2 separate regions of the Homo sapiens genome follow, and region 2 is linked to region 1. The links are contacts of gene promoters, found by promoter capture Hi-C in human tissues and cell types (Jung and others, 2019). All regions are on one chromosome and are shown on one strand. The core of a region is centred on a gene start or on the middle of the fragment in contact, and the rest is flanking DNA. Distances in the headings are between cores, read along the strand shown.

Region 1 (3,559 bases), core at 783-3,282:
CTCGTGATCCACCTGCCTCGGCCTCCCAAAGTGCTGGATTACAGGCATGAGCCACTGCGCCAGGCCTACTGTTAACTTTCTTATTGTACTCTCCTCCACTACAATAAAAAATACTTTACTACAGCTTCCCTGTCTTGTTCACCACTATATTTCCATGCTCAAAATATCATCTAGCTCATAGTAAATTCTCCATAAGTATTTGAAAAAATGAGGTTGAAATAAGCTAGTAATATTAAAAGCTTCATTCATTAAACAAATGTTTTGTATATACCTAGGAGGGTCCAGGTTCTATTTCAAAGTGCTGGAGATTCAGGTGCAATGACAAGAGACAAAAGGCTACGCAAGGTGGCATGTGCCTGTAATCTCAGCATTTTGGGAGCCCGAGGCAGGCAGATTATGAGATCAGGAGTTTGAGATCAGCCTAGCTAACATAGTGAAACCCCGTCTCTACCAAAAATATAAAAATTAGCTGGGTGCCGTGGCATGTGCCTGTAATCCCAGCTACTCAGGAGGCTGAGGCTGGAGAATTGCTTGAACCCGGGAGACGGAAGCTGCAGTGAGCCGAGATCGCGTCACTGCACTCCAACCTGGCGACAGAGCAAAACTCTGCCTCAAAAACAATTTAAAAAAAGAAAGAAAAGAAAAGAGACAAAAATCCCTGCCTTCCTGGGGCTTGCCTTCTAGTCGGGAGACAGACAATAAGCAAGATAAAAGGTAAAATATAAAAGAAATAAAGCAGGAAAGAAGGACATGAAGTGTGTGTGGAAAAGTAACATTTTAGATGGGATAGCCAGACAAGGTATTTTAGATAGAGTAGCCAGAGAAGGAAGTGGGAGACTGAGCCATGAAGATATATGAGAGAAATTCACCCCAGGAGGCCTGGATAACTGGGACAGGAATTAAGGAGTTGGGGACTGAGTAACACATCAGGATCAGGGAGGTTAAGGGAAGTCAGATTGTACAGGGCCTTGTTGGTCGAAGTAAGGACTTTGGCTTTTTTTTTTTTTAGTCGGAGTTTCGCTCTTGTTGCCCAGGCTGGGGTGCAATGGCGCCAGCTCGGCTCACAGCAACCTCTGCCTCCCGGGTTCAAGCCATTCTCCTGGCTCAGCCTCCGAGTAGATGGGATTACAGGCATGTGCCACCACACCCGTCTAATTTTGTATTTTTAGTAGAGACGGGGTTTCTCCATGTTGGTCAGGCTGGTCTCGAACTCCGGACCTCAGGTGATCCGCCCCCCCTTAGCCTCCCAAAGTGCTGGGATTACAGGCGTGAGCCACCGCGCCTGGCCGGACTTTGGCTTTTACTAAGAGTGAGATGGGAAGCTGTTGGAGGATTTGAGAACCTAAGCGTCATGATCTGACTTGTCATAAGAGGATTCCTGGAACTGCTGTGCTGGGAATGCCAGTGAGGTTGCTACTACAATAACCTAGGCAAGAGATGGTGGCTCCCAAAGACACGGGAAGGAGCAGCTCTGGGGTTGGAAGATAAAATTTGGGGTCTGACAGCTACATTGGAGAAGCCTATTAGCCATTCGAGTGAACTGTGGAAGAGGCAACTGGATGTATACAGGTCCGGAGTCTCGGGGAAGATCAGAGCTGGGAGCTGGCACTTGGAACTCAACAAATAGTATGTATTATTAGCAGTAATATGGAACCTTAGCTGTACTACTACTTACTAGTAGCGAGCTCTTGAGTTAACCATTTTTAGGTTCTGGGCCTCAGTTTCCCTGTGAATGAAATGGCGAAAACACTCCCACATAACGGGACCTTGAGAACGAAATGAAAAGTATCAAGGGCTGACCGTGAGCAAGGTGAGAGCCATGAGCCAAAACCACACGAGCCTCTCCGGGAGGGGGGGGTCACTGCTGCGGAATCAGCGACAGGTTTCCGAATCCACGGCACACGCTCTGAGGTACCAGAGGTAGCAAAGCAAAATAAGCGCGGGGTCCCGCACGGCAGCGCGGGTGCAGCGCCCAAACCTCGCGAGATTTGTTGGCTGGGCCAAGTACCACCCACCAAATCTCGCGATACCTAGGCGCCTGAGAGGCTCTCTACCGGTGAGGGTTTGCGGGGAAGATGGAGTATCCCGCGCCGGCCACGGTGCAGGCCGCGGACGGCGGAGCGGCCGGGCCTTACAGCAGCTCGGAGTTGCTGGAGGGCCAGGAGCCGGACGGGGTGCGCTTTGACCGCGAGAGGGCGCGCCGCCTGTGGGAAGCCGTGTCCGGTGCCCAGCCGGTGGGTAGAGAGGAAGGTGAGTCGGGGGCTTTGGAGGCAGAAAGCCCCTCGCCCGCTGCGCGGCTCGCGGGGAACTGCGGAAGCGCCGACGGTCACACCCCCTGGCCCGCCTCCTTGCGTGCTGCGCCCCGGGACCCCCAGACTTGTGCTCCCCATCCGGGCGCGGGCACCCCAAGAATCGGGCCCCCAGCGCGCTGAGGGTGAAGGGCCGCTCACGCTCAGGCCCTGGGTTTTCCTCCTCCTCCTTCATCATTCACTACAGCGCAGTTTTTCCCACATTCGAGGACTGTCATCCCTATACTCGTCCTGTCGGAGACCTACAGTCTTTGCCATCCCGGTAAGCCAAGCCGAGTGCCCCTCACCACTCCTTGACTCCCCATCGTCCCAATCTCCAGATTTCCTCCTAGGGCCTCTCGCCTCCCTTCTCTCAAGCCCCACACTTCCGAGGGCTCTGGAAGGCCTTCTCCTTACCCCCTGGGTTCCTCCTGGTCTTGATGACTGAGCCCTGGCTTACCCGTTTTTAGCTCTCTGGCCTCTACTTGCTGGGTCCCTTATTCTAAGGTGGGGACAAGGAGCCTGAGAAACTGGTCTGGGTTTGCTTTGGCTCCAGCTTCTTTGTGTCCTACACTTGACCCAAAGTTGCTGAGAACAGTGTATGCAAAGCCACGTTAGGGGTCACTCCTGGGCCGAAGCGCCCCAGCTTGCTCTGCACTTGACCTGAGACTGGGTAAGATGGGATGAAAGAAAGAGAAGGATGGAAAAGAGCTGTCCTGACCTGCTTGTGTGACTCCCTTCACTGTCCTTTACAGAGCCAGCTGCTTGATGCTAACCCAGATGTACAAGAACTCTATCTGGGCTTCTCTGCTAACCTTGTCAGGTATCTGGAGGGAAATCAGATTTCTCCAGTGATTTGTTTGCTTGCTGAGCAGACTTGTCTTCGAAAGTTTAATATGCTATTTGTGAACTGACTGCCCTGGATAAAATTGGATAAAATTGAAATTTTGACCATATCTAAGGAAGGTACACAGACCTATACCCTGGTATATACTTCTCCAATTTAAAAACAAGTCTAGCCTGTCTCCTAAGTTTATATATATATATAATGTATATTATATATAAAAAAGAAGGAGACAGGGCCCCAGAAATGGTGTGTGTGTATGCGTATATATAATATACACACACATAAATGTATATATATAATATATACACACATAAATCTGTATATATATTTTTATATACACTTGTAAGTATTTTATGTATACACACACACACACACACACACTATTTCTGGGGCCCTCTCTCCTTTTTTTTTTTTTTTTTTTTGA
Region 2 (3,711 bases), core at 1,212-3,711, 220 kb after region 1:
CAATTTTATCTTCAATGTCATACTTTATCTTCATGAAACAATAATTTCCTTAACTGAGATCTTGTTTTTTATTCTCAGCTTCTAGCACAGTACTTAGGATTTAGTGGTTATTCAGGAAATATATAAATGAATCTACATATTGTATTTATTTATGTATATATTTTTCCCTCTTTGCCTTCAAAGAGTAATGACTTAGGAATATTGTTATGATTTAATCTTAAGTAAAAATATAGGCTATAAAGTGAAATATATATAGTCTGACCCTAATTTCAAAAGTAAATATATCTTATTTGTCTTATTTTTCAACTCAGTTTTTTAAAATGAAATAGAGACATCTTGACATTCTACCCCTACATAGTTTAATATGTAGTTAAAAAATGGAACATTTTCCTTTATAATCAATTTAACATATTTACATCTTATATAAGATCTGTTTATCTGACATCAACTGTCTTTCAAATTTCATCAATTATCCCCTAACCTTTACCTTTGGATTATTCATACCAGGACTCAATCTAGGACTGCTCATTGTAACTGGTTGTTATGGTTCTCAAATCACTTTGAATTCAGAACAATCCCTTTTTTCATGATCATGATCATGTCTATAAGAGAGTGACATATAAAGTCATCTACTTTCTGTATTTGTGTAATTGCTTCCTCATAGGTGTCACTTAGATTGTTTTCTCTATCTCCTGTTCTCTGTCAAATGGAAGATAGAACCTATCAGTTTGATAGATTGAAAGTTGAACATTTTTAGCTAGACTATATCAGAGATGATAATGTGGAATATATTGTACATTAGAGGGTTAAAAAATGTTTTATTCCCATCAGCCATTCCCTGACAGTTTGTTCTTTCTTTTTTAAAATTGAGACAGTGTCTTGCCCAAGCTGGAGTGCAGAGATGCACGAACACGGTTCACTGCAGCCTTGACCTCCTGGGTTTAAGCAATGTTTCCGTCTCAGCCTCCTGAGTAGTTGGGACCAAAGGTGCACACTACCACACCTGGCTAATTTTTGACAACATTTTTTTTGTAGAGGCGGTGTCCCACTATGTTGCCCTGGCTGGTCTCGAATTCCTGGGCTCCAGTGATCTTTCTGCCTCAGCCTCCCAGAGTGTTGGGATTACAGGTGTGGGCCACCATGCCCAGCTTCCCTGATGGTTTTTTGAAAACCCCAGTTGAAGATCTTTACCTATATCAATAATTTTATTAGAGGTTACAAAATGAAGACTTTCAGATTTTATTATTTTCTCTATTTTTATTAACTGATAGTCTCTTTCATTAATTGGACTCTGTTATTGTCCTGAAATACTTGAAAGGCAGAATAAGTGCTTCTTTCTTTCCCATTAATTACCAATTGTAACATTAAGGAGTTCATTAGTAGTTGTTTTAATTGGAGACATTAGAGCAGTCTCTTTCCCCTGCTTTTGAATTATTGTTGTGGACTTATCAATATTATAGCTTCAGTGTATCTCAGTCAACTTCATTTAATTTTGGTTAAAAAAATATATATATATAATGTAAATTTTATTATTTTATCTTTTTTTTTTTTTTTTTTTGAGATGGAGTCTCACTCTGTTGCCCAGGCTGGAGTGCAGTGGTGTGATCTCAGCTCACTGCAAGCTCTGCCTCTCCTGTTCACACCATTCTCCTGCCTCAGCCTCCCGAGTAGCTGGGACTACAGGTGCCCGCCACCACACCTGGCTAATTTTTTGCATTTTTAGGTAGAGACAGGGTTTCACCATGGTAGCCAGGATGGTCTTGATCTCCTGACCTCGTGATCTGCCTGCCTTGGCCTCCCAAAGTTCTGGAATTACAGGCGTGAGCCACCACGCCCAGCCTATTTTATCCATTTTTAAGTGTACAGTTCAGTAGCATGAAGCACAGTTAGATTGTTGTGCAACCATCTCCACCATCCATCTCGATAATTTTTTTCATCTTTCCAAATTAAAAATCAATACCCATTAACCAATAACTCCCTTTTCTGCTCAGCCCCTGGCAATTGCCATTCTATTTTCTGTCTCAAGAATTTTCTTATTCTAGATACCTCATATACTTGAAATCATACGATATTTGTTCTTTGTGTCTTAAGTAATTTCCCTTAGCATACATAATGTCTTCAAGGTTCATCCACTTTTTGTAGCCTTTGTCAGAATTTCATTCCTTTTAAAGTGTGTTATTCTTTTTGACACTTAAATTACAACAATTTTGGCCTGTGGACTCTATTTTTATTTTTTGTTCTTAGGTAAGTTCCCGCTGTGAAGAGGAAAGCCTTCTAGCCCGAGGTCGATCTAGTGCTCAGAACAAGCAGGTGGACGAGAATTCTTTGATTTCAACCAAAGAAGAGCCTCCAGTTCTTGAAAGGGAGGCTCCGTTTTTGGAGGGCCCCTTGGCTCAGTCAGAACTTGGAGGTGGACATGCTGAGTTGCCGCAGCTGACCTTGTCTGTGCCTGTGGCTCCGGAAGTCTCTCCACGGCCTGCCCTTGAGTCTGAGGAATTGCTAGTTAAAACGCCAGGTAAGGTGGGGTTGGGGTCTCAGTATTTGAGCAGATATGATTAGAGGAAGCAGGAGATTTTAGTATGTTTTGATGTAAAGCCAACATTGTATCTATATACAATAAACTACCCCCTTTTGTCCTGGGAAATACTTAAAATGATGGTTAATTAGATATAGTTACTAACCATGAACTGTGGCACACTATCAAGAAGATGTATTTTTAATAACTATGCTCCTTGCTCCAGTGTTGCTCTTCATGATTGTTGATCAGCCACTGTGTAAATTAACAACCAGGATAACAGGGCTTCAAGAGGAGTACTGCACATTAGTGGAATAAGCACTATGCTTCAAGTGCTGGCTCCACCAATCCTTGTGTTACTTGGGAAGTTGTTTAATCTCTGAACTTGTTTCCTCATCTATAAATGGAGATCATAATGTATTAATGTGTAATGTTATATACCTGACAACATAGTAATTACCAGTTCATTAGAAGTTAATTACCAGTTACTTCTCACTTGATCATTCTTTATATATCACCTGGGGAGAGTTGGATCTAAACATATTGTCTCTAATTCACCTTGTAACTATTGAATATTATAGTCAGTCAAGGAATGGCAAGAATCCTCTTTTCTGTACCCCTTTAAATTTTGGATATAACTTTTTTACATTATCAACAGTAGCTTTTGATGTTATTCCTTAAAGAAACGATTCCAATTGTGCTTAAACTAGTTGGGTATAATAAAAAAGATTTTTGAAAGAACAGTAAAGATAGTTATTATTTCAGTACCTACTATGTGCCAAAACTCTATTAAGTCAGCTCTTTTATATTATTCTTGAGTGATCCTATGAATTATCTTTTACCTATTGAATTTTATTTACTTAGGGGCAGAGCAGAAACTATAATCTTTGTCCATTTATGACCATGATCCAAGTTCTATTTCACTCCACTTCTCCTTATTTTATCCTCACCAACAATCAGTTGTTATAAAGGCAGTTCCGTCCTTCTGACTTCTCCCTTAGTGATTTTGTGAGTTAAAGTCACCACACACACATCCCTCACATTAGTTGGTGCTTGCATTGAAAACTGTTTACTTGTTTTGTTTACTAATATTTTATAATAAGCAAATTACCATCCTGCCTCTTCCCATAAGATGACGGGGAAAACATCAAAAACATTGAGATTCATTTTGTGTGGTATACAGATTTTTTAAAAAT

The links. Contacts are between HindIII fragments. The study calls those that stand out against the background at their distance.
Region 2: a contact is called between a fragment that was not itself captured here and the fragment with the promoter of ZNF346 in region 1, in 1 of the 25 tissues and cell types used here (dorsolateral prefrontal cortex).

Annotation. Positions count from the first base shown.
Region 1 is chr5:177,020,664-177,024,222 of GRCh38, forward strand. It overlaps ZNF346 (zinc finger protein 346), which reads left to right and starts at 2,033. Exons shown (of 7, transcript NM_012279.4): 1 at 2,033-2,250. The coding sequence starts at 2,076. It also overlaps a transcript of UIMC1 not described here. RefSeq lists enhancers at 1,737-2,274, 1,798-1,847, 2,275-2,811 and a silencer at 2,248-2,397. The HindIII fragment of the contact is 9,260 bases long and covers 1-3,559 here.
Region 2 is chr5:177,235,993-177,239,703 of GRCh38, forward strand. NSD1 (nuclear receptor binding SET domain protein 1) reads left to right here. Exons shown (of 23, transcript NM_022455.5): 7 at 2,245-2,515. Among named protein-coding and RNA genes, the nearest start is that of RAB24, 66 kb to the right of the region's middle. The HindIII fragment of the contact is 9,664 bases long and covers 1-3,711 here.